Linked DNA regions of Homo sapiens: regions 1, 2, 3, 5, 6 and 7 are each linked to region 4. Evidence: promoter capture Hi-C in 16 types of primary human blood cells and fetal thymus (Javierre and others, 2016). All regions are on one chromosome and are shown on one strand. Each heading gives the region's core, a stretch centred on a gene start or on the middle of the fragment in contact. The rest is flanking DNA. Distances are from core to core; before and after follow the strand shown.

Region 1 (3,291 bases), core at 729-3,228, 1.4 Mb before region 4:
AAAGAAGTCCTGTGGTGTAGGAGGAACACATTAAACTTGGAGTTGGGAGATCCTGCCTTGAATATTAGCTCTGCCAGTCATAACTATATAAATGATTGGGATGTCATATATTCTGAGTCTGAATTTCCTAATCTATAATATTCATATAAAAAATAATTCCCCTACATGCCTTGTGGACTTGTGGTGATTGTAAGATGTTATAATATGAAAATATCTTGTAAACTGTAATACTCCATACAAACATGAAATAATACCATTCTAATTATTTAATGAATATCTTTAAAGAAGTGGTGTGAGGCATAGGGGATAACAAAAGCACATTAGAGATGTTTTTGAAAACATTTATTTAAAATATAACCAGCTGGTCTTGGTATTATCCTCCTGGTGGTCATAACAGTAGTCTCCCTGGTGTGCCGTATTCTCTCAAATGTTTTAAATGTTTGCATGCAGCCATCCGTAGAGTGTCAAATGGTCTCTCTTTGACCAGAATAACAAAAACTCAAAGAAATGCATGACCATGAGGACACTGTGGCCTGTGAATGATTTATTGAGACTGGCAGCTCCCCAAAATGGTAACTGAGAGTAGCACTAAAGCCTTAAGTTTTGGTCACGTTCTCAGGTGAGAATGTGACCAAAAGAGAGGAATTGTTAAACAAAATTATGGGAGGCCATTTTTCTGGATTGAGCTCCTGCACTAGGCCCCAATAGACCAGACCAAACAAAAATGGAGTCTCTCATGCTAAATGCAGTGTAAACAAACTGAAACTTTAAGGAAGCATATAGATCTCAAAATACCATGTAGGTCTTCCTAAAAGCAGGAGACTCCATAATAATATGAAAGTCTCCTCCGTTCTAACACTTACAAGAAAGTAACCTGAAGTTACCAATCAGTTTTTTTCTATTGTTCTGTTTCCTTGTTCCCACCTTGCAAAACTGACAATTCTGTCTATTTCCCAGTGGGATTTGAGACCAAATAAGTCAATTTACAAAGGTGACAAAGTGATGTCAATGCCTAACGTTTTAGTCAATCCTGCAAAATTGAGATGTTGACCAAAACAGGATAATTGTCAAATTAAGTTTAACATAAAACTATCTCTGTACCTATTTTAAGTTCAGCCTAAAGGTTTCTGCATACATAGTAAACTGTAATCTAACTGGATGTGTAAATGACTGTAACTTACTTACTGTTGTACAATCACATAGTCTCAGCCAATCACAGGCAGCCAACTGTTCAAAGCAAGGTCAAATAAAGAAAATGCTGAGTTGTAACCAATCCAGTTGTTTCTGTACTTCACTTCTGTTTTCTGTATATCACTTTCCCATTTCTGTCTATAAATATTATCTGACCATGTGGCAGCCCTGGTGTCACTGTGAACCTATTCCAAATCTGGTGGCTGCTCTATTTGAGAATTGTTCTTTGCTCAATTAAACTCCATTAAATTTAATTTATCCAAAGTTTTTTCATTTTAATGAGCCATTGCCTAACACAAGGTTACAAAGATTTATTTACATGTTTTCATGTAGGGGTTTTATGGTTTTAGCTCAGGTTTGTTAAATAAAATTTATGAGAGGTCATGAGTCTGAACTGAGCTCCTGCATTAGGCCCAACAGAACAAACCAACATAGAGTTTCCAATGCTGAGACTCTATGTTATCAAGTCAAAATTAAGTCATCTATCTGGCCTTCCAAGAAATCAGGAGAAACAATAGCCAAATCCCTGTAACAAGCCAGTTTTAGCAGGCATGATAAGGAAGCCCTCTTTGCTTTAATTTTTAGAAGGAAAGCCACTTCATATTGACCAATTTGCTTTTTATTCTCTATTTCTGCTTTTCTCAGCCCCTTTCTGCCTATAAAGTCAAGCTTTCCTCTCTTCAGCTCATGAGAACACCTCATTCTATAAAATAGAATTCTAGAATCACAAATAAAAGCGAATTGAGACCTTTGAACTGAATTTGTTGCAATATTATCTTATGACATGTTCAAGTCTATGGGGTCTATGGGTATGGCTAATAGACCATGTTGTTCTTGGGAGTGAGGTAGATAGGCAGGCAATAATAGTATAGCTTCACTTACACACAAAATTAAATTAAGCTTGGGTGAACAGAGCTAATATCAATGGAAAATAATAACCCTTCACCCAGTTTCTAGAACGGAGCCATGTCTCATACTGAAGCCCATCAACTGAAGGGGATCCTGGGTCCTGAGAAAAGTATATTTCTTCCTTTGGTATATTCAGTGTAATTTCCTCCAATCCAATCCTAAAATTTGTGAGAGCAACTGTACCCTGAGAAAAGGGTGACCTGCCAGAGCTTTTGAGTGCTGTTAAATACAAGATCTGAGCCAACGCTGACACCAGGGCAGCTCAGACACGGTTATGGCTCTCCTGATAGAGTGGAGGTATACAAATGCTGGGTGATAAATGAAGTCCTGGCCCAAATTGTTTCACACTGGTTGCAGTGGGTCCACAAACCCAGTCTGTGGTCATTTTTCTGACCTACAGTCAAGATGAATATTCTTGGTAACTGACAGAAACCCACATTAGGCTCTAGACGATGAACAAAGAGCCATTATGGTAAGAGAGGACAACTGAAAGTCCTTAAAACTGCCTCAAGCCCAACCAAGATGGTAAATAGGAAGTAGTACCACATCCTAGGCAGAATGGTGAAGAGTGTGTCACTCTCAGAGACTTAAAGGTGATGGTCTCTATCACAGTTTCATTTAATTTACCAGTTAGGTCTTTGCAAAAATCAGATGGATTGTGTCAAATGTTAGTGGTCTAACATCACTTAAGCATGAGGTAATGCTGATCTCAACTGCTGTGGGTGATATGGAATCTTTACTAGAAGAGATCAACTTAGTCTTTGGCAGTTTTATGTAGCTATTATTTGGCAAATGCATTCTTTTCATCCGGAAGAAGGAGCAGAGTATTCCCTTGGCGCAGGCAGCGGTTCACATTCAAGGTCTTACTCAAGGACTAAGTTACCTTTTCTGCTTTGTGTCATGGTCTGAAGAGTCCTTGATCATCCTATTATTGAGCAGAGTATGATGTTGGCCCACTATATTGGTAATATCATGTTCCTTACACCTGGGAAGGAGGAAGTGCAAGTACTATGAATACCCTAGAGAAGGGGTCCAGACTACAACAATAAGGCATAAAAATTATTTTGAGTTGAAGGCATTTGAGTTCTTGAAATCTCTTTATCTGCCTAAAAGTAGAGCTTCCCAAAATACCTCAATTGTCATAAATCCTCACCCCTGGAACAACTGAGGAAGATTGACTCTGATTACCAA
Region 2 (3,700 bases), core at 1,002-3,501, 1.4 Mb before region 4:
CTAAGAATTTAAGGGATTTTACAAACCCAGAGGAAGCCCTTCTCCAACAGTACTTCCAAGCACAGATGAGCCTTGTGTCAGCTTTGTGACTGGACTGCCATCAGTTAGTTTGCTTTTCACTGATGTGTTCTGCTGTTATTGAGCTCTGGCCTTCCTCCATCTGTTAGTCTATGCAGCAGAAAACTTTCCTGGGGCTCACTCAAGTGGTCCTTCAAAACAGGATGACTTCAATCCCTCAAAGGCAGGCATAGCTCTGGATATTCCTCAGTGCCTCCCCCTGCCCTCTCAATCACACACACACACACACAGTTCTTTTCCTTGGAGACTTGATTGCTGGGTACAATGCTCTTTCAGTGCACACTTATTGATAATCTCACAATTACCTGTCCATCTTTCCCTCCCATTAAATGAGAATATTTAATTTTTGCCTCAAGAGTTTAGTTGCTAGACCAGGCTTCATTTTTTTTTTTTAAAGAAATAAAAGAAATTAGGTCTTACTCTGCCATCCAGGCTGGAATACAGTGGCATGATCATATAGCTCACTGCAGCCCTGAAACTCATGGGCTCAAGTGATCTCATCTCAACCTCCCTATTAGCTAGGACTATAGGTGTGCAACACCATGCCTGGCTAATTAAATTTTTTTTTGTAGAGACAGGGTCTTGCTATGTTGCCCAGGCTGGTCTTGAACTCATGGCTTCAAGTGATCCTCCTGCCTCAGTCTCCAAAGCATTGGGATTACAGGCATGAACCACTGTGCCTAACATGATCCATTTTTTAAGAAAGGCCATTTCTGTTCTCTTGACTTATTCCCTAGCCTTCACTTATGTTTATGGGACAACTCTCAGTGCACCCCTAATTTCTATTTACTTGCTTGCCTGCTTTACTTACCATCCAGGCTCGCTGAATACCACTACCCTTGGTTGGTATGGCACAAAATGATATTTCTAATCTTTCTACTGTATTAGTAAACTGTTTAACATGATAAACTTCTTGAATTTCTAGTAATTGAGAATTTTAGGGTTTGGGTTCCATGAAACAAGTAATCACAAAGAAGACTATGTATTATTTAAATTTCATAACAAAATTTATGAAGAGTTTACTTATGTTGAAAAGGGTTATGTACAAAGGTAAAATTGAAAACCTTTCATCTTTTTGGGTATTAAATTTCTGATCATATTAGTAGAAAAAGAATCTCATTTATTGCAAACTTAATTTGTGCCACAAGGATCATTAGCTGTGATATCAGTGTGGCCACATCATAGTATGAGCAAATCATCACTTCCTTCTTTAGAAAAAAGTACAACAGTATAAAAATATGTTGGAAAAACAAAGGCTGTAGTTTTGGTTTACATATTCTAACAAGTTAAACCTGAAATATCGATATAATCTTAGAAACTCTAGTATGATAACCTCACAATAATTAAACATATTAAGGAGCAACAACTTTATATATATTTTGTAAATAACTTCTCCCAAGTTATATCAACACAGATTTATCAAAAGGATATTAGCATCAACTTAAACTTGATAATATTGCCCCTTTGCTGGTAGCTCTGTTTAGCTGACTGGGGTTTGTCTGGATAGCAATTAAGGCTCTCAGTTTAGAAAGCCTGATAAGGTTACCATCATTTCTAATAGCTATATTGTTTGGGCCATTGTTTTTGCCTATAGATAGTAATCCTCTTGCAAGGCTTAAACATTAATCTAATCTTCCCTTTATGCAGCCTCTAGGTCATCTTAGGTTGAATCTGTACTCATAATACTTTATTTGTGTCACAATATCCTATGACCCAAATCTTTCTTGAAAAGCTGCAAAATCCAAGAAATGGGGAAAATGGCAATATTATTAGTTGGCAATGGCACACATTTTCCTTTACAGAACTTTGAATTATGCCTTTTTAGCAGATTTATGATCACGCAGGGCACTGAGTCTTGCACAGCTGTGGTTTAACCTCAAGTACTTTTGTCACATTTTGTTTTTTTTTATAAAATGTGTTTCAATTCTGACATTTAGAAGATTGCAGCTTTGAAGAATTTGTGTGGACCTTCTGCAAGCATTTTATTTTGCTAATGAACTAAAATTGATCTCTGTAATTGAAAGATAATGATACTATTTGAGTGTAATGACTAAATACCAAGTGAAATTTTGCACAGATGAAATTCTACACAACCCTGGATATAATATGACTGCTTTATGTTAATTGTGAAATCACATTGTATAGCTTCTCTAAATTGTTTAATTACTAAAGTATAATAATAGATGAAATGAGCAGTGGGAAGGATGATAGACTGGACGCCTGCAGACTTGAGTTCCAATCTGGACATGTGAAACCTTGAGCAAGTCCCTTAATTTCCTTGGGACTCAGTTTTTACCTATAGACTTGGTAGAACAAGGTTATTTAAGGTCTCTTGCAGCTCTTCCATCTTTATGAATCTGAATCCCACCAAATTGATTTTTCATAGTCAGTAAAAAATCTGAACAAAGCTGAACTGTGAAATTTTTGACAAGCATTAACAGGATTGAACATGTTTTAGACGCTCAGTGTTCTGTAGGAGAAAAGAACAGTTAAGAACTACCCCCATCCCTAACCCACCCTATACATAACTGGTGTTTCTTTAAATTTGAAACTGCAATTTCCAGTTACTCTAAACTGGTTTTGTACTTCTTGTGGTAAGGACAGATAGAGAATGCTCCAACCTATCATTTCACAGGGCATGTTGCACTTTATAAACAGTAACGAACAGTGGGTTGGGTGGGAGATCTGGATCAGTTTGGGTGGTGTATAGTCCAGACTACACTAGATTTATCTTCGATACAGGCTCACAAATCTTACTGAGATTTTTTTCCCCCTGGGGAGTAAGAAAATAAGAGATGCAGAAAAACCCAACTGCTGGCAATACCAGGGAACCTGCTTTATTAAATTTTCCCCAGGGAGGTTCATTATTAAGCTCTGAAATATAAAATCTTACTATAAATGGCAGATGGGGACTTGTACTCTCTTTATTTGTAATATGCATATTTTACTAATTTCCTACTAAAATCAAACTTACCGATTCTCTCCCTCTCTCTCTCTCTCTCTCACACACACACACACACACACACACACACACACACACTTCTCTGTAGAATTTTGTGGGTGGACACGGAATATTAAATTGTACAGAGAATGTTCACATTCTCCTTGAAACAAAGATTAATGGAGGTTCTTACGTACCATTTGTATTGCCTTTGCATTTCTAGAGTCTATGTAAGATACCCGTGATGAAAACATCAGAGAGAAGATTTTAGAAACAGGTAAAACAGAGTTGCTGTTTTACCTGTTTACCAGAAAATATCTAGCTTTATTTTTACTGAGGGATAAAAATACTTTATGCACATACATTTGAAATGAAAAGGTATAAATAAAAATGCAGTTGTAGAACAGAAAACCTGAAATAATAGATTATAATTTATTTGCTTTAGTATTCACAGGAGGTTAGTTTTTAGCTGTTTACATTAATATTACGTTTTTTTTTGTCAGGTAACCTCTGAGTCACAATATTTGATCACACTTAACACTGTTTTTAAAGGACAGAATTTAGGGTTTTTTTTTTGTTTGTTTTTAATAAATAGTATTCTATTGTCCTGAAAAAAGAATGATGTTATCATAGGCTTTTGTTCTGAACAAACTAATTCCCTGTTTGCCACTCATAATTTTT
Region 3 (3,737 bases), core at 690-3,189, 1.5 Mb before region 4:
GTAGATATAGTATTATACCTATACATGTGTATAATAGATGCATATATAGAGATGAGGAAGCTAAAGCTTTGAGAGATTATTAATCTGCCCAGGTTATCACAAAGCTAATACTGTACATGGTAGAGCCAGAACTCAAAATCAAATCTCCAAAATGGCAAAGAATGTGCTTTTAAACGTAATATTGTATTGCCTTTCGGGCTATGAAGTAAAATATTAACTAGACTTCTATGTTTATGGAGTTTTAAAAATTACATGCTATTATAGGAAGCAGTGTATTAGCAACATACTCAGTTGGAACTTCCAATTCTAAGATTTGCTTTTCCCCTTCAAAGCCAGATGGTCTCTAAGGTACTTAATCTACTTAGTTCTGTAAAATTCTTATTGTTAGCAACTTGTAATAAGATTTGCTCTATGAAATGGTTGATGTATGAAAAATTTTGTTAAAGAAGGCAGTATAAAAGGAAACAAAGTGTCATATTTTCTTGATTCAATAAATGTTTTACCAAAGCTTATTTTAAGCTAGGCATTGTGGTAGATTTATTAGATATAGGAACTTGATATAAGATATTGTTAATAGAGAAGGTTATAAAATCAAATGCACAGAGATATAGAAGATTGTCTTTTAATTGTCTACAAGACAATTAAAGTAAAGTAGCTAGTTTAATTTCCTGAGCCACTTTCTAATTTTTACTTTCTTGGGTTTAAGTAGTGTGTTTTTAGGTATGAATCATGGAATTCAGTTGTCCCTTGATAAGCACAGGGGATTGGTTCCAAGTCGCTTAAGGATGCCAGAATCTATGGTGCTCAAGTCCCTTGTATAAAATGGCATAGTATTTTCATATAACTTTCACATATCCTCTTGTATACGTTAAATCATCTCTAGATTACTTATAATACCTAATACAATGTAAATGCTATGTAAATTGTTATACTTTATTTTATTTGTATTATTTTTTATTGTGTTATTTTCCCAAATATTTTTCATCTGCAGTTGGTTGAATCTGCAGATGTGAGGAACCTGTGGTTACAGAAGGCTGACCGTATTTTAAATACTTTTGAAATGCTATTATAGTTTAAAGTTTTTGTATATAAACAATATAAAAATTAAGTGTTTTGTGGTTTTCAAACTTATATATGAAACTTAAAATTTGCAGTTTGAGTATTGAAATTTTACAGATCAAGAAAAAGTTCTAGATCTTTAAGTAACAAGTACTTTTTGGATTTTGAATATTTTAATCATGGATGTATTACACTGTTAAAATGATTTGTAATCAAATCATTCTAAGGCTGTTTTATGTTTTTTCTCTTAATACAGTTCTTAAGAACATACTCTTGCTTCCTATTTGGTCTAGATGCCTCAGTCTAAATCGGGAGTTCTTCAGTGAAGGTGCACACTGGCTAAACTGATTAATAATTTTATATATTTGAACTGTATTTATTGGAAAGAGAGAGGGATCATAGCTTTCCTAAGATATTCAGACATGGCTATTTAACTGCAAAGGTTAAAGATCACTACATCAATTTGTAAGATTCTTGAAAGTAGTTTGGAGTATTACAGATTTTGTATTACGTTCTTACCATGTTTGTCATAGTGTTTTGTAGATGTTAAATACTGATTGCATGGCTTCATAGTTCCCTGTCAGCTTCTGGAGGGTGCATTTTTCCTAACTCATAGCTTATTTCTGTGAGGCATACACTATTCTTTCTTTGACTGTATTTCTGATGGTATTCTCCCACCCCAGCTCTCTTTCTACTTCCTTTCCAAATTCTGTATTTTTATTTTAGAGCCCAAGTAATGATTTACCTTTACCTAAATTTTTCTTATTAGTAATAATTTTTACCATTGTGAAGGATTTTTTTTCAACACTGATTTGGTCTTTGTTTTAATAATAAATAGTATTTTGTGTTATAAAACATTTGTTCTGTTTCAAGTATAAAAACTGACTAACATAGTTATCAAAACCGGTTTTCTATGTGGTTTCTAGAACCAGTGCAGTATATATTCTTTTCATTCCCTATGACCATGTTTTATCTCCTCAACATTTTTTAATTGGTTAATTTTTTCTAACTGTTCATTATGAATATTCTCAAACAGAAAAATTGTCAGACTAGTACAATGAACACCATTGTACCTTCTGCCTAGATTTAGTAATTAGTATTTTACCGCATTTGCTTTACCTGTCGTGTGTATATTTTTTTCTCAATCATTTGAAAATAAATTTCATATATCAAGAACTCAGTCTTTAGGCCAGGCACCATGGCCCATGCCTGTAATCCCAGCACTTTGGGAGGCTGAGGCAGGTGGATTGCTTGAGCCCAGGAGTTCAAGACCAGCCTTGGCAACATGGTGAAACCTAATCTCTACCAAAAATACAACGATTAGCCAGTCTCATAACCCGGTCTCTAAATTAATTAATTAATTAATTAAATTTTAATAATAAAACAAAAACTTGATCCTTTAATATTTTAGCATATCCATCTACTAAGAACAAGGATATATCTTTCATAAAGCTATGATACCAATGTTACACTTAAGAAAGTTAACAATAATTTTATAATATCATATAATATCTTTCTCATTTCGGTTTTAATGTATTCCAGAATAGGAAGCCTGGTGTCTGTTTTGATATATTACGCAACACTTATTGTGGTGTTGGCATTCACTAGCCACTTAAAAATGTTTGATTCAATGGAGTATTTTCATATAATACCTTCTATGGTAAATAAGAGTTAAACAATCTAAAACATCATCTCATAGTTCAGTGTTTTCAGATGAAGGAAATGAGATGCAGAGCTGTTCTGTGCAGAGCTGTGACTAGAGACCAGGTCTTAAGTCTCAGTGTAGTTTTCTTTTGGCATTATCAAAATTATCATTCATAATTTATGCATTGTTTAGGTATGTATTAAGTCTTAGGGCTAAATGCTAAATACTTACCAGAAGTATCTTCTGAACATTTTTCTTAATTGATACGTGCGCATATGTCGGGTTTTCAAAATTATATTCTATAAGATTATCTGATTTCTTATTTCTAGGTTGCTGTCTTAAACATTATGTTTTATAAATTGGAGATTCTTACTATATTTATAATTTTGGCAAACTAAAAATTAGTCCTTATCCATGATTATTTTCTGCCTTTACATCTATATAGTTACTGGATTACTTTGGTGATTAAGATTACATCTGTAATCTTTTCAAATTGCCATTTTTATTGATACCTTTGAGGTATGGTGACCTGGTTTTAATTATTCTTTAACATAGGCTTTTAAGTATATAAAAGTTCAAAAAATAATAATTTAACTTCTTTTTATAATTTTATTATATTTTCATTCTTTAGAAATCTAATTTACATGCATGATATGTTCAAGCTTACTTGTAAAGGAAGGATTTGCTAAATGAACTAGTAGAATAAAGATTATAAAGAGGGTTGTTTAAAGAACCTTGAAATGTCAAGCATTTAAAATGTTTTAGCAAGTATGTACAAATATGACTGTGATTGACTTTTTTGGTAACATTATCTTTTCCCCAGTTAATATTATAGAATACTAATTTGTAATGTTTATCACATTATATGTATTTTTGCATCCAAGAAGTTACATTTAATAAACATGTTCCACTTCCTAACAAAGAAGTAAAAGCAAAAAGCCATGTCTTAATGTAATAATTTTGCATAATGTAAAATTTTTTAAATACTTAGTGTAAAATGGTAGTCGTGGATTCTGAAAAAATAAAATGTTTA
Region 4 (3,584 bases), core at 486-2,985:
ACTAGTTGATGTATTTTATCTTTGGCTTTATTGGGCATGGTATATATTAACAGTTGGTTAGGGCGGGAGGTGCCCAATCTCTAGTAGCCTAAATATTAAAGCCTTTTTTTTTTTTTTTTGTAAGGAAAAGTGTTTATCATGCTTTAACCTTAACATAAGTATCCTCCCTTATCAGTCTCTATTTCTGCTTCCTGTGCAGCTGAAACTCTTCAGGATAAGTGAAGTCATCAGCTATCGGCTAGGGTAGCCTAATGCATTTGGGAAGTTGGTTTGGTTTACATGTTAATGACCTGGATGAAGTCCAGTAAGGTGTGGAAAAGATAGAGTGGGGGGAGGGGGGGAACTCCGAGGAAGCTGCTTCCTCGGTAAATATTTCCAAACTGATTAGAAAGTTCATGGCCCCGCGATGAAGTCGAGATCTCAAATACTGGTAATTATTTTATTATTTCGTACATTACTAACATTAGAGAAACCTTTCGGCTCGCTTTCTAGCGCTCCAACCTCTCAGGGTGAAAACCGCGACTTCTGGGCGTGCAGGAAAAGCACGCTGGAATCGAGTGCTGCAGACATCCTGGACCGTGGTTTTTACGCGTGAGTAACGGAGGAGCGCACCGACCGGTGGAAGAGAGAAGTGGCTAACGCGTGTCCAAAAGGGGGAAAAGTCACAAGAGCAACTATTAGGGTCGCGCTCCTATTGGTCAGAGGAAAGATCCCGACTTTAGAAGGACTTTCCTGCTGGCTGGCTCGCAGCGTCCCCGGAGAGCAAGCGAGCGCGCCGCAGCGGGAGACTAGGTTCTCTCCGAGCGTCCTCCGCAGAGGCGCCGCGAGAGGAGCAGGGAGCCGCAGCTCGCCGTGTTGTCTTCATTTCGTGCAATAAAGAATTGTCATTAGGTTTGCGTATGGCATGTGCTATTACCCCACCGTAAAACTAAAATTAGCAAAATGTCAGGAATGGAAAGATTGATTCACCAAGATGCAATTATCATTTAAAAGTGCTTGATTGAGGTACTGATGTTCAGTGATTTATTCTGCATACCATATACATAATTAAAGTAGTGTAGTGGAGTAATTTATCAATCTAGTTGAGACTGGAGGGGTGAGGAGGGAGCTGCTGTATGTTTGTTTTATTAAAATGCTCCGAGGTCTAGTCCCGCCCCCCTTTTGCAAGAGTGAAACTGATGATTTCTCCAGCTCGCGAGGAAAGAGTCAACGGTTTGGGATTGTGGGGGAGAGAGAGACGGAGAGAAAAAGGCAGCGCGAAGCAAAGGCAAGGACAAAATTAAATAAAGGGGGAAAAAAGGAGGCAAAAGACATTTCATCGGACGTGCTGCTTAGAACCCCAACCATTCGTGCTCCGTCTTCCCTACCACCCCCGCCTCCCCTCCCAGTATCCTTCAATCCCCCCCGCCCCCACCACCCCCAGTCTTTTTTACGCGATGTTTCAAACGCTGTGAGCTGTTCTCCTTTTCCCATTCGTCTTCTGTCACTTCCTTCCTGGACGCAGTTTTCTGGACGAGTCTGGTTACTTTTAATCCGACCGGCCGCTGAGAGCCACTTTCTCCTCCTCCTCCTCCTCCTCCTTCTCTTCCTCCTCCTTCTTCCTCCTCCTCCTCCTCTTCCGAGCGGCCTCGGCGCGCGCGAATGCGCGGCCCCGCGCCCCCCCCCTCGCGCGCGCTCCCCTCGCGCGCGCGCACACACGCACACATCGTCTCCAGCTCTCTGCTCGCTCTGCTCGCAGTCACAGACACTTGAGCACACGCGTACACCCAGACATCTTCGGGCTGCTATTGGATTGACTTTGAAGGTTCTGTGTGGGTCGCCGTGGCTGCATGTTTGAATCAGGTGGAGAAGCACTTCAACGCTGGACGAAGTAAAGATTATTGTTGTTATTTTTTTTTTCTCTCTCTCTCTCTCTTAAGAAAGGAAAATATCCCAAGGACTAATCTGATCGGGTCTTCCTTCATGTAAGTACCCCTGATATTTCTCGAGGAAATAGAAAACCCGGGTATTGTCTCTAAAATCTGCATCAATATATTCCACGGCACTGTGTCTATCTATCCCTGTGCCTTTTTTGAAGGCTGAAGTTGAGGCTCGTTGTGCATTCTTTTTCGTTAGATTCCATGATTTCCTTGTTTGTTGCTAAAAGTAACTTTTTAGATAGTCGTATCCGTTTGCCATCAGCTATTGAAATCACTCCTGACTCGTTCCTGTCACACCAGTGTATTTAAAGTTTCATGAAGTTAGTTCACGTCATTAGCATGTTTGATATGGTGGAGCGTGTGGAGCCTGGTGGATTTTAATATTTCACAGCATGTTCTGTGACCTTGAAGTAGACGCCTTAAGATTTAGCAGTTAGTTCACTGTGGAAAGATGCTCCCATGAGTCCCCCCAAAGACACTGATTTGCCCTGGGTTATGCTTCTGAGCCACTAATTCTTGGGATTAGTTTGACCTAAAGCATGGCTGTCTGTCAGAGTATACCTTTGTGCATTTCCTTCCCTCACCAAAGTGCCGGCTTGACAGAGGGCTTCTTAATTGGTGTGGACAAAAAGTAATATCCCTGCCATAGTAGTCTACACATTTCACAATTCACGTTCGATTTCAGCATATGGATTGCTGTTCAGGTCAAGTCAAATACATAGCTGTTTAAAAGCAAGCAAGGTTAAGTCACTTAAATTGCCTTCTCTTTGGACTTGGAATGAAAGTTACCAAACTCGATGATAAAGTTTGTCACAAAGGAAGTATATATAGATGTGGCACATTGTTTATTTTATTATTAAATATTGTGGAAGTATTTAAATTTAATGCTAATGTTACCTTCCTTCCCTGAACATGGCTATTGCTTTTTAAAGGAAATTTTATATCTGAATCACTTCTGACTATTCTAAGTCCAGTAGTTATCATTCTTTGGGGAGAGCCTTTTTTTGTCACATTTTAGGAATGCGTGTCTTTTGTATAAAATACTTTATATGTAAATGCTGACAGTAGACTAAGTAGAATTGGGCTCTCTGCCAGTTCCTTAACCGGTCCTCAGTGGAGAATTGCTTTGACACAAAGTGCGTTTTACTATTGTGAATCTGAAACTAACTCTAATAGTAACTGTCTTATGAAATGCTTGGGGACTGCATATAATTTCTAAGTGCTATAAAGGAAACTCCAGCCACCTCATTATACCAGTCCAAAAAAAAAAAAAGCGACTAGCCTACTTTCACTGGCACCTTGCAATGGAATTGTGGTTGCAGAGTAAAGATGTTTATGTGGAGTATAATAACTCCAATCCCTAGAGACTTGGTAGGACATGGAAATGTGACCACCTGTGAACCCCGTTTAACCTCGTATTGCATACCAATTTTAGCTTTAAATAGATCAACAATCTCTAATTTGAAACTAAAACATCTTATTTAATTTTAAAAAATGTCAGTTTTGGCTAGTCTTTAAAAACATTCAGCATGTACCAATATGGTATAAGCAGTATTTTTGTTTCTCCATCAGTTTCAACTAAAGATAATGCAGTTAAAAAGCCATATTATTGTCTTCCAGTGTATGCATGAAATTAAGTTAAAAGAAGTAGTTCTAAAGCAAGAC
Region 5 (3,745 bases), core at 53-2,552, 1.5 Mb after region 4:
TCTCTTTTAAATTATTCTTTCCCCAACATGCAACATTTTAGGTTGTTCACAATTCATTGTAATCAATTTGCCATGCCCTTTGATCTTCTCTTTTTCTCTCTTTTCTTAGCCAATTTATGAGACCAGGTTAGCCACATATGTTGAGTGTGTGGCTCTCCAAAATTATATACCACAAATGGCATAAGTTTGAGGAATTCAGATAACTGTGGCAAACTCTAACCTCAGCTGTACCCAACAAAAATGAAAAAGAAAAGGCTTTCCCTTTCTTAAGCCCCTAAAAACATTTTAATAGAAAGCAGAGTTAAAGTCATCCTGCCACTTCTTCTTTTTACCTGTGTGGGCTTTTCAAGACCTAAATTCTCTAGGTCTCATCATCTTTCTCTTTCTTTTTATTTATTTATTTATTTTTTAGAAAAGCTATTTGCCATAGGGAAATCCATTTTTCGGATTGGATATATAATAAATACATGAGAGAATAAGGTATGCCTAAATGGGACAAACCAGAATCCATGTAAATTTTGAACCTCACCTGCAATTTTGAAAGTCCTATTAATTTAAAAAATAGTAAATACCTTAATTTTCATGATAGCTTACTGTAAGGCTCCCTAGAGGCAATGAAAATGGGAATCTCAATAAAACGAATACTACCATACATCCTGGCTTCAGAGATGAAAACAGAGGGAGAGGATTGGCTAGTTATCAACAGAAGGGTAAGGAAAAAAAGCACAGAGAAAGAACAGACAAGGCAACAAAAGTGGCAGAACTGTAAGGGCCAATACGCATCCACTGCTTCAAGTTTTTCAGCCATGTTCCATTCTCCGAGATTTCTGGTAGTGCTTCAAGAATACTGGTCTCCAAACTCTTCCTGAAAAGGGCTAGGAATGCTTCTGCCTGAAGATCTTACCTATTCTTTCTGGGCCCCGTGATCTCCCTACATGATTGATCAACCTACTATTTCAACTCTTTCAAGCCTTTTCACAAATGTCAACTTCAGTGAGGCCTCTATTTAAAAATGAGCACCCTACGAAATCCTTTCCTCATTTCTGATTATCCCCTGTGAATTTACATCTGCCTACTCCGTACCCTCAGTTTATGCCCCTTGAACACTCTTGCCGGGCGCTTCTCCTTTAAATCTTGCCTGGAAGGGGCGGAGCTATGTCCCAGACTCACCGAGAGGAGCGTTCTCTAGGCTCCGCCCACTTACGTCTCAGTGGGCGCCCTAACGAACCCGGGATACGGTCTGTTCCTAGTCCGCTCCGGAAATGCAACTGCGTACGGGCTGGCCGCGTAATCGTGACGACAGCGCGCCAGCGCCGGCTAGCCGGACGCCCTAGGCTTCCGCGAGATCTTCGGTGGGGGTACGGGTGTTTTACGCCAGGACGCTGATGCGTTTGGGTTCTCGTCTGCAGACCCTCTGGACCTGGTCACGATTCCATAATGTACCACAACAGTAGTCAGAAGCGGCACTGGACCTTCTCCAGCGAGGAGCAGCTGGCAAGACTGCGGGCTGACGCCAACCGCAAATTCAGATGCAAAGCCGTGGCCAACGGGAAGGTGAGGTTTTCCCAACGGTTGCCCAGTTGCCCGGTCACTAAATTCTGAGCAGCTGCGGGAGCTCTTCTGGCTCCCAGGACAATCTCGCTCCGTCGTTTCTCTGCCTCTGCGGCGCGGAGTGCGTTTTTCTATCAAAATAAGCGAGCACCTTGCCAGGTTCCGTGGGTACAAAGACGAACAACGCCATCCCCGTCGTCGAATGGCAGACAAGTAACCAGTCTTTGTAACGTAGTGAAGAAGAGAGTAAGTAGTGTGCTAAGGTAGTGCGTGGCAAGAGCCGTTCACTTGTCAAGAGATGATGTTGGGGAAGGTTTTTCCCAGTAGCCAATGCGGAGAAAATGGGAAAGGAAGTTCCAGGCAGTCAGAACCACCGTTCAGAGTGGGAGGGAGGTCAGAAGTTACAGAGATGGTGCGTGGACGTGTTTGTGGTCGTATGTGGCCGAAGTTGAGTACCTGTGCAGGAATGGCTGGGGAGGGTAGGAAGGGAACTTGTAAGTGGAAGTGAGGCGTTTAACATTTCCACTGAAAGGATGAGGAACCTTTGAAATATTTAAAATGGGAAGCTAACCTTATCAGATTTCCGTTCTGGAAACAGCGCTCTAGCAACCTCGTGGTGAATGGGTTGGATGAGGGAGGGAGACCAGAGACCAAGTACAAACCAAGTGACTGAAGATGGTTTGGACTATGGCCCGCTAGCCAAGTTCCTTCTGTTACAGCTCTCGGACTGGTTTAATCTTTCCTGCAAGCTCCACTCCAGCAAGTGTTCAGTGCCTCCAAATTACCGATACTGAGTTACTTTACTTTCTACCTTTAATTCACATCTATTTCATATCACTGATTTTAGCACCTGAATTAGTTTCCTAAGGGCTGCCTTAAAAAAATCACCACAAACTGGGTAGCTTAAAATAACAGAAATTTATTGAAACATTTGCTGTTTTTTTACAACTTGTGACGTAATGACTGACCGAGAAACGGATGTTGGAAGCTTTCCAATCATATTTTAAAAAGTCTGTCTACTTTTTAATTTATAAATAATGATATCACAACTGTGAGCATGTGCACACAGCCTGTCATGATTGTTTATACTTTAATGAAGCAAAGGTCTAGCTGACATTCCGAAAAGTCGTGAAATGATGGTACAGTTTTAGTTTATTAAATATTTTCCTACAGCTATTTTGTGTAATGATTAGCGAATCTATAAAGAAAATGAGGCGTGATATATACCCTTCGTTGGATATATAAACTAAATTTAATCTAGATAGAGAAAAATGTTTTACAATTGTTTAATTCATTGAATTCATTGAACTTGTGTTGTAATTGTTGATCTAAAGGTTCTTCCGAATGATCCAGTCTTTCTTGAGCCTCATGAAGAAATGACACTCTGCAAATACTATGAGAAAAGGTTATTGGAATTCTGTTCGGTGTTTAAGCCAGCAATGCCAAGATCTGTTGTGGTAAGTTACAGTGGTGATGAAATATAATGTCCTTTAGTTGGCTTGTGAAATTTGACCTCTTCTAAATTCCCTGTCCACTCAAGTCTTAAAAATTCACCTTAGTTACAATTAATTAGTTTTTGGCACATTATATATTTTTCAATACAGGCCTTAAATCATGAGTTGCTGTATCATATCTTCAAAAGTATTTCAAGTCTCACTTTGTGGTCAGAAAAAAATTTGAGGTCAGGTAATGTCATAAAGAAAGAAAAAAAATAAATTACTTTCCTCTAAGTTCTCAACTAATGAGCCATAGGACTGGGACTAGAACATAGACTACTGCTTTTCCAACTCTGTGACACCCAATAAATGTTTGAAATAATGCATTCATTCATCATTGGTAATCATATGCCCCAGCTGAAACTGATACCATAAGATTTTTTTAAGCCTTGATTAGTAGAAGCTGGAGTTTTATCTTTGGTGAAAAAGATTGCCTTATTGTTTCAGATGTATGGTTCTGAGGACCTATTTGTTTTTTGCTGGGGTGGGCAACCGTGAGGAGAAACAGGTAGCTGAGATTAAAAAGCAGAAAGATAAAAAAGGTAGAGTGGGAGGGTGTTCAAAATGTTGTTACGTTATTCTCTCACTGGTTTGTTGTGAAGACCAAATATAAAAGTATATCTTAAGTAAAAGTCTGTTAAGTTTTAAAGTTATACAGCGTGACTAGCTTACGACCCAGTAGAGAATAATTTTCTAGG
Region 6 (3,739 bases), core at 457-2,956, 1.1 Mb before region 4:
TTGGTATTACCATAGAAAGATATGTTAAAAGAAAAGTGAAATTATACAATAGACATAGAATGCATTTATGTGACTTGTTTTCATGCTAAACTTTGGCAATAAGGTAAACTTTGCCTGATTTTTGGGAGTCACTCAGCCTTTTTTATAATTTATATTTCCTTCAGGCACAGACAGAGTAGTCAAAAAAGTTGTTCCATGTGAAACAGTAAAACCATCATGTCCATTTAAAGTAGGATGTTGTAAATTGATGCTTGTTTTGGACACCCACTATCACTTTCTCACAAATGTGTGTCTCCAAAATGAACACTGTCTAAAGAGAAGTTAAATATATGGTGAGCAGATGTCTACCAATGTTTGCATCTTTTTTAAAAGGCAATGTAGGAATTCACATTTAATCTTATTAAAATTAAAAAAGATTAAATCTGGCCAGTGTAATTTATCTGTATATTAGAATTCTAAGTGATTGTCAGTGAGAAATACAAAGACTGTGAAGGGTTAGTGAAAGGAATTCTATTTAGGTGGCATTCCAGGGCTCAGAAAGTTTGGTAAGGACAATGAGGGCCATTAATTTTTTTAAATCATTTTATTTTATTTCAATAGTTTTTAGGGAACAGGTAGTTTTTGGTTACAGGGATACGTTCTTTAGCGGTGATTTCTGAGATTTTGGTGTACCTGTCACACAAACAGTGTACACTGTATCCAATATGTAGTCTTTTATCCCTTAGCCCCCATCCCATCTTTCCCCCTGAGTACCCAAAGTTCATTATATTATTCTTTTGCCTTTGCATCAGCATATCTTATCTGTACTTATAAATGAAAACATATTATGTTTGGTTTTTGCACTCCTGAGTTACTTCACTTAGAGTAATGGCCTCCAACATCCAAGTTGCTGCAAAAGACATTATTTCATTCCATTTTACGGCTGAGTAGTATTCCATGGTGTATATATACCACATTATCTTTATCCACTTGTTGGTTGATGGGCATTTAAATTGGTTCCATATTTTTGCAAATGGGAATTGTGCTGCTATAAACACGCGTGTGCATGTGTCTTTTTTGTATAATGACTTCTTTTCCTTTGGGTAGATTCCCAGTAGTGAGATTGCTGAATCGAATGGTAGTTGTACTTTTAGTTCTTTAAGGAATCTCCATACTGTTTGCCATAGTGGTTGTACTAGTTTACATTCCTACCAGCAGTGTAAAAGAGTTCTTTTTTCGTCACATCCATGCCAACATCTATTATCTTTTGATTTTTTTTAATTAGAGGGCCATTAATTTTTTCATTTGCTGCTCTTAAGGGTACAATCCCAAACAAAAGTTCACTCTCATCAGTGGAGAAAATAGCTTTGAATTTTGAACTTCTACATACTCAATTATAATTTAACCTGTAAGCTTCAAATAGCTAATGGCAATATCTATTTGGTATAACACACACACATACACATTCACAATCATTTTTTCAATCTGGCTTTATAGTAGGAAATACAATTGAGAAACTTCAGAAAAAAGGAGGCCAACATCTCAAACTTCTCTCCTAAACCTGGTTAGTTTTTTTTTCTTCTATATTTTAGTTTCACAAATTTAGGTATAATATTGAACTCCTTGTTAGTATAAAAGTTTAGATGTTGAAATAGTTTACTTACAAACCTAGTATATCGCCAAGAAGCTGGCAATATAAGAGGACATTTGATTCGTTAATTCCTGCAGGTATTTTACATCATTATGCAAATACTAAAAAAGTATAAAATAAAGTGATCTATAGTTTAAAGCCAGATAAGAAATAATGGTAGCCATAACAACAACAGCAACAACAACAACAATAATAGTTGCTAATAGTTATTGATTGCCTACTTATGCTACTCTCTGTTCTGAGCACTCTGATCATACCATCTAATTTCATCCTCACAAGAATATTGTGCAGTAGATACTGTTTCAGTCCTTTACTAGTGAGGAGACTGGCTCTGAAGTAATGTCAACAGCAAATGTCAAATCAGAATGTCCTAATACAAGGAAAGCTTAATTTGGGGTTTACAAGTCAATGGAGTTACCCTTATAATTACTCTGTGGGACTTAAAATGAACTAATAAAATGAAGTTCCAGCATGTTTCATAAATGTTTATTACATATATGATCCCTAGGTATTATATAGTATATACTACATTTCTAAACATTGCAAAATAATAATTTATTCACTTAAAAGATATTTATTGAGTTATTGCTGTCACCTGCCAGGAACTGTTCTAAACAGTGGGAATATGGTAGTTACTGAAACAATATCCTGTGCTAATAGAGCTTATTTTCTAGCATTACTGTATTGTGCATATCATATGTCAACTTGTTTGTCTCAAAAATTTGTTTCAGGATTAATCCATATACACATAAATTATTTTATGTTTTTGGTTGAAAACATAAAAGTATACCACAATTAACTGCACTACTCATAAACTGAAACATTCTTCAATTTTCTTTTATTATAAAGGATGCATTTGTGCCTGTGTCTTCTTGTGTATATGAGTAAGAATTTTTGTCTGGTGTGTAAATTTATGTATTTGCTGGGATAAGCTAGTTTTGCTGCCATAGGAAGCAACCTCCAAACCTCAGTGGCCTAACACAAGAGAAATTTTTTATCTTTCTCACATAAAATCTGTTAACAGGTTCAGATGATCCTTGAGGACAGCTCCTGACCATGTATGTGGCTCAGCATTCTGAGGCTGACTTGATTTTGTGTCCCCTACACATTAGCATATGCTTCCAAGATCATCTTCACAAGGCAAGATGGAGCTTGAGAGTCTTACACTGGCAATTACATATCCAGCAACACATGACAACATTGTTTGACTGTAAATTATTGGCTAGAACTAGTCCCACCCAAAGACATGGGGACTAGGAGTTTAATCCTTCTATATGCCCAGAAGAAGGAAAGAATATTTTCTCAATCTATCTGTGGAATTGCCCTGCCATTGAGTAAACACATTCTACATTTACAAGATACTGGCAAATTTATCCCCAAAGTGATAGTTCCAAGTTTATATTCCCATCATATGGATAGAGGATCCCTGTTTTCTCACAGACTCACCAGAGCCTGACATTGTCAGGCTTTATAAATGCTGGGCAATCTGATGCATGTGAAATGGTATCTCATGGTTTTAATTTGTACTTCCCTGGTTACTGGTGAGGCTGAATATTTATTTAGTTTCTGAAGTTTGCCTTTAGGGAGGAAAAGAGTGAAAGTGGGGTGGAGGTAGATATGAAGGACTTTAAATTTATCTTCATTGCTTTATTTCTTGAAAATATGATTTGAAAAAAGTACAGAAAAATGTGGGCAATTGTTAAATTCAAATAAAAATACGTTAAAGTAGCCTTACTCTTTTTGGTTACCACATTAAAGCAAGTTTAAAACTTATAATTGTTTTTAGAGCCACTTTTGCTTACCTCCAAGCTTGGAAACATGTTTTACTGTAACCCTGGTGACAAGACACACCCACAGATTCCCAATAAGTGCTCTTGAGACTTAGTACCTTTGCCCAACTTCAATTTAACTAAATCTCTTGGGATTTGGCCATCAGGAAAAAGAACATACTTGCTTTAATTCCAGTGAAAGTGAAATTGTTCTTGAGAATCCATAAATGTGAGAGTCTATGAGAAAGAGTATAGTGGATCTTTCTGACATGATGGATAGAGGAGGAACATTTACAGAGAAAGCAGTTCACTATATTTACCATCTGAAAAAAATACATAT
Region 7 (3,671 bases), core at 1,100-3,599, 1.3 Mb before region 4:
AAATTCTACTGAAGTTCAGGATTTGAAGCAATTTGTGTGTATTTTCATTTTGGTATGAGTCATATTCTCTACAGCTCTATTTTCTGTGGTACTTACTGTTCTTAAAAGTCTCTTTAAGTTAAGACGTTGTTTAGGAGTGTTAGAGCTGACTATGGCATTACATGCTGTATTCATTGTTTACTGACTAGACTTCATAACTGTGGTAAAAATAAACATGATACCTCTCAGCTTATTTCCATCCATCTAGTATTTTCATGAATGGCTTCCCGTAATTGTGTAACCCCCTTTAAAAAATGTATGAAGAAGAAAGAGAAGGAGGAGGAAGAAAAGGAGCAGGAGAAGGAGGAGGAAGAAGAGGAGGAAGAGGAGGAGGAAGGAAAGAGGAGGAGGAGGAGAAGAAGAAGAGGAGGAGGAGGAGAAGAGAAGGAGGAGGAGAAAAGGAGGAGGAGAAGGAGAAGAGGAGGGAGGAAGAGAAGGGGGAGGAGGAGGAGAGGGGGGAAGGGAGGAGAAGAAAGAAGAAAAAGAATCAGTCTCACTTATGAACTACATAACATAATTTTTAGAAGGCTGAATGGCAACTTCCAATTACTGAGAAGTGTAATAATTGCCTTAGTAGCACCCTAAACATAGTTATTTTTCTTTCACAACTACAGTTTTCTTTCCCATTCTTTAATTTGAAAACAGTCATTTTTATACTCATTTATATATCTAAAATGGGTAAAATTTTAGACGTCATAGGTAAAAAACATGCTTTAATTTTTCTAATTAAGATGGAGGAACTGGGCCAGGCGTGGTGGCTCACACCTGTAATCCCATCACTTTGGGAGGCCAAGGCTGGTGGATCAAGAGGTCAGGACCAATATGGTGAAAAACCCCGTCTCTACTGAAAATACGAAAATTAGCTGGGAGTGGTGGTGGCGCGCACCTGTAGTCCCAAGTACTATGGAGGCTGAGGCAGGAGAATCGCTTGAACCCAGGAGGCGGAGGTTGTAGCGAGCCAAGATCGTGCCACTGCACTCCAGCCTGGGCGACAGAGCCAGACACCGTCTCAAAAAAAAAAAAAAAAAAAAGATGGAGGAACTGATTTCTGGCCATGTTGGCTTCAACTTTACTTCATAAATTAACCAGTAGGTGTTGCTATGCTAGCACTAATGTTGATTCCACAAAAGTTAACTGGTCAGTTTGTGGTGAGTGGGTTCCCAAACAATTCTAATTTGTGTATTCCTCTTCGAAGACCGAAACCCTGCCACCAAATACTGAAGGCCTGATGGGATTATTTTGGGTGCAAAATAAGTTTTTAAATAAAGAGGACCTTCTATTCTCCTGTGTCAACTCACAATACTGGGAAATAATTTCAATGGCTTCCCAGTAGTTAAGATATTTTGGCCTTTGGAGAAGCAAGCAATGATCAATTTGTACAAGTAGGAAAAAAAGCCCCATTTTTATCTGCTTCACTCTTTTTTTCCTATCTGCACTTCATTCACAATACATATTATTATCACCCCAGTATCCCAAACCCACGTTAAAAAGAAGTGAAGGTCTCTCTGCCTGGCATAAGCTTCCAGGCATAGATAACCTTTGAAATGTTTTCGTTTGTCAGACAAACAAGTAAATTCACACAGGACTCACAGCTTAACTCTTCACAACATACCTCAGCATCTCAAGTGTGTTTACATTGAAAAGTGTTCTCATAATCCTTTGTGTAGGCAGAAACAAACGATTTCCTTGTTTAACCTCTATAACCCTTCCGCCTGTACTAATCATTCGGCAGAAACAGCAGACACTACTACTTCTGTTTTTGACTTCAATTTGCTAAGCAAAGCCCCAAAACTTAGAAGAGTGAAATATTTGTGATTTCTATGTTCAAAGATGAGGTTCTTAAAATTAAAAAAATCTGATAATTGAGTTTTAGGCAATAAGCCAAACACTTCAGTGTGTGCTTTGATGAAAAAAATAAATGCAGTTTGTATACATTCTACTGATTTTGCATCTCAAGTTTCCTCACTTGTACCAAGCATGTGAAACTGATAATCTAAAACTGTCAGAGTTGCTTTTTTTTTTTTTTTTTTAACTTGCTAAACACAGCAGAAACCTATACACTTCAGGATGAAAACTAGCACTTTGATCTAACAACACTGTTTAAAGAATGTTAGTGTGTATTTTGGTACAGAGCGAAAGGAATGACATTGGGTGAAGGAAAGAAGAAAGGATAAAGCTCTAGAAGGAGATGAGAAGGAAGGCGGGAGAAATGTGAAGAATGAATGAGAATGTGAACTTGTTATATTTTTTTTCACAGTTGCATCTATTCAGTAATGTGAAGCAATAACAGTTTATTGAGCCTTTAACAGCTAGGGCTGAATCCTATGAGCCAAAGAGAATGTGGATTTTTCTGTAAATTGTTCCTTGCACATTTAAACATAATCTTTAATAAAACAGTGAAGTACTTCTGTTGTAGAACTCTCTAAGCACTTTCTAAATGGCAAAACAATAAAGCATCTTGAAGAGTAGGGTTGAGAGCAAAGTAAAAAAACCTAAACATTTTCCAGTTATTTTATAATGAATTTTCATTGATTTTTATAATCATATGACTTGCAATGTGTGATCTTTTCCCCTTGCCCCTTTGCCTTCCTCCTTCTTTCCTTCATGCTTCCTTTTCTCTGTATTTCTCAGTGGTGTCATCTGCGGGCAGCTTCTGTGTATGTTAGATAGCTGACTGTGAGATTACAATAGGTGAAGGAAAAACATCTAAACAGTTTTTCTCCCTATAGAGTTTCATTATTGAAATGCTCTGAAGTCATGGGTGGTGAGTGCGAAAATGTAGAGATGTAGATTGGTTGGTAATCCACTCAATGTTTGTAGTAACCAGAGCTGTAGCATTCTAATCATTCCCTGTACCATCCCTTGGAAGCTGGGTTTAATTCAGCTAAATGGTCCATGGTATGGACTTCACTCCCCTTCAATTAGATTTCTCCCCTCTGGCGAATTCTTAATCAGAATTTCCTACTATTTAGTCACTAAATTAAACCTGTAAATTGTCAGTAACTTCATATAATGTAATGATATATCCATAAGCACTGAAATTACTTAGAGTATTGTGTATAACGAACATTCTAACGTAATAGTAACACAGTTAAGCTTTGGTATGGTGAAATAATCTTGTTAGATATAGCAATAAAGCACAAAGGATCGCTTATCTTTGCTTTTGAGAAAATATATAAAAGATAGATGCTTTTTTCAAGAAAGTGTGGATTTAAAAGGAGTTAGGTGTAAAACCCTCACTCAAATAATAAATAATTATATTTATGAACTGATTGCTTAATATGTACCAGATGTTTTGCTAAAGATTTTACATACCTTATTTCATTTAATATTCACAACAATTTAATGAGGGTAGGTACTGCTATTACTCACTTTTTAAATATCAGAAAACTGAGACTTAGAAAGATTAAGTAACTTGCCCAAGGTCACACAACTAACTAGTGCTGGAGCTGGGATTCAAATTCAGGTATGTTTGACTCCAGGATTTGGGCTCTCTACACAGTTATGGAAATATAATCAGCATATATTTATACACTGAGTTTTATTATTTTTACTTTATTTTGTATAAAGTGTTCATCTTGAAATGTGATCAAACCAAAGTGATAATTGAAAGTTCAGCATATTTATTGAGT

Evidence for each region. The method cuts DNA at HindIII sites, captures the fragments that hold promoters and counts their contacts. A CHiCAGO score of 5 or more calls a contact.
Region 1: a fragment that was not itself captured here is called in contact with the fragment with the promoter of MEF2C in region 4 in 2 of 17 cell types (naive B cells and total B cells); the score reaches 5.9 in naive B cells.
Region 2: a fragment that was not itself captured here is called in contact with the fragment with the promoter of MEF2C in region 4 in 6 of 17 cell types (naive B cells, M0 macrophages, M2 macrophages and 3 more); the score reaches 14.9 in naive B cells.
Region 3: a contact is called between a fragment that was not itself captured here and the fragment with the promoter of MEF2C in region 4, in 1 of 17 cell types (endothelial precursors). The highest score is 5.2, in endothelial precursors.
Region 5: the fragment with the promoter of CCNH here is called in contact with the fragment with the promoter of MEF2C in region 4 in 1 of 17 cell types (M2 macrophages); the score reaches 6.0 in M2 macrophages.
Region 6: a fragment that was not itself captured here is called in contact with the fragment with the promoter of MEF2C in region 4 in 3 of 17 cell types (monocytes, M0 macrophages and M1 macrophages); the score reaches 6.3 in monocytes.
Region 7: a contact is called between a fragment that was not itself captured here and the fragment with the promoter of MEF2C in region 4, in 6 of 17 cell types (naive B cells, M0 macrophages, total B cells and 3 more). The highest score is 14.0, in naive B cells.

The regions. Positions count from the first base shown.
Region 1 is chr5:90,250,974-90,254,264 of GRCh38, reverse strand. All of the region lies in intron 3 of LINC01339 (long intergenic non-protein coding RNA 1339), which reads left to right. Among named protein-coding and RNA genes, the nearest start is that of LINC01339, 37 kb to the left of the region's middle. The HindIII fragment of the contact is 231 bases long and covers 1,863-2,093 here.
Region 2 is chr5:90,268,770-90,272,469 of GRCh38, reverse strand. The region is part of intron 1 of LINC01339 (long intergenic non-protein coding RNA 1339); the gene reads left to right. Among named protein-coding and RNA genes, the nearest start is that of LINC01339, 19 kb to the left of the region's middle. The HindIII fragment of the contact is 8,813 bases long and covers 1-3,700 here.
Region 3 is chr5:90,394,143-90,397,879 of GRCh38, reverse strand. The region is part of intron 4 of CETN3 (centrin 3); the gene reads left to right. Among named protein-coding and RNA genes, the nearest start is that of CETN3, 14 kb to the left of the region's middle. The HindIII fragment of the contact is 2,858 bases long and covers 511-3,368 here.
Region 4 is chr5:88,881,335-88,884,918 of GRCh38, reverse strand. MEF2C (myocyte enhancer factor 2C) reads left to right here and starts at 1,735. Exons shown (of 11, transcript NM_002397.5): 1 at 1,735-1,964. It overlaps MEF2C-AS1 (MEF2C antisense RNA 1), which reads right to left and starts at 1,589. Exons shown (of 10, transcript NR_136219.1): 1 at 1,434-1,589. RefSeq lists an enhancer at 628-677. The HindIII fragment of the contact is 10,727 bases long and covers 1-3,584 here.
Region 5 is chr5:87,410,487-87,414,231 of GRCh38, reverse strand. CCNH (cyclin H) reads left to right here and starts at 1,302. Exons shown (of 9, transcript NM_001239.4): 1 at 1,302-1,554; 2 at 2,886-3,008. The coding sequence starts at 1,438. LOC105379066 (a long non-coding RNA gene) reads right to left here and starts at 1,250. Exons shown (of 3, transcript XR_948543.1): 1 at 1,171-1,250. RefSeq lists enhancers at 1,346-1,515, 1,546-1,675. The HindIII fragment of the contact is 6,680 bases long and covers 1-2,541 here.
Region 6 is chr5:90,021,968-90,025,706 of GRCh38, reverse strand. No RefSeq gene overlaps it. Among named protein-coding and RNA genes, the nearest start is that of MIR3660, 7.1 kb to the right of the region's middle. The HindIII fragment of the contact is 623 bases long and covers 1,395-2,017 here.
Region 7 is chr5:90,182,991-90,186,661 of GRCh38, reverse strand. All of the region lies in intron 4 of LINC01339 (long intergenic non-protein coding RNA 1339), which reads left to right. Among named protein-coding and RNA genes, the nearest start is that of LINC01339, 110 kb to the left of the region's middle. The HindIII fragment of the contact is 1,577 bases long and covers 1,561-3,137 here.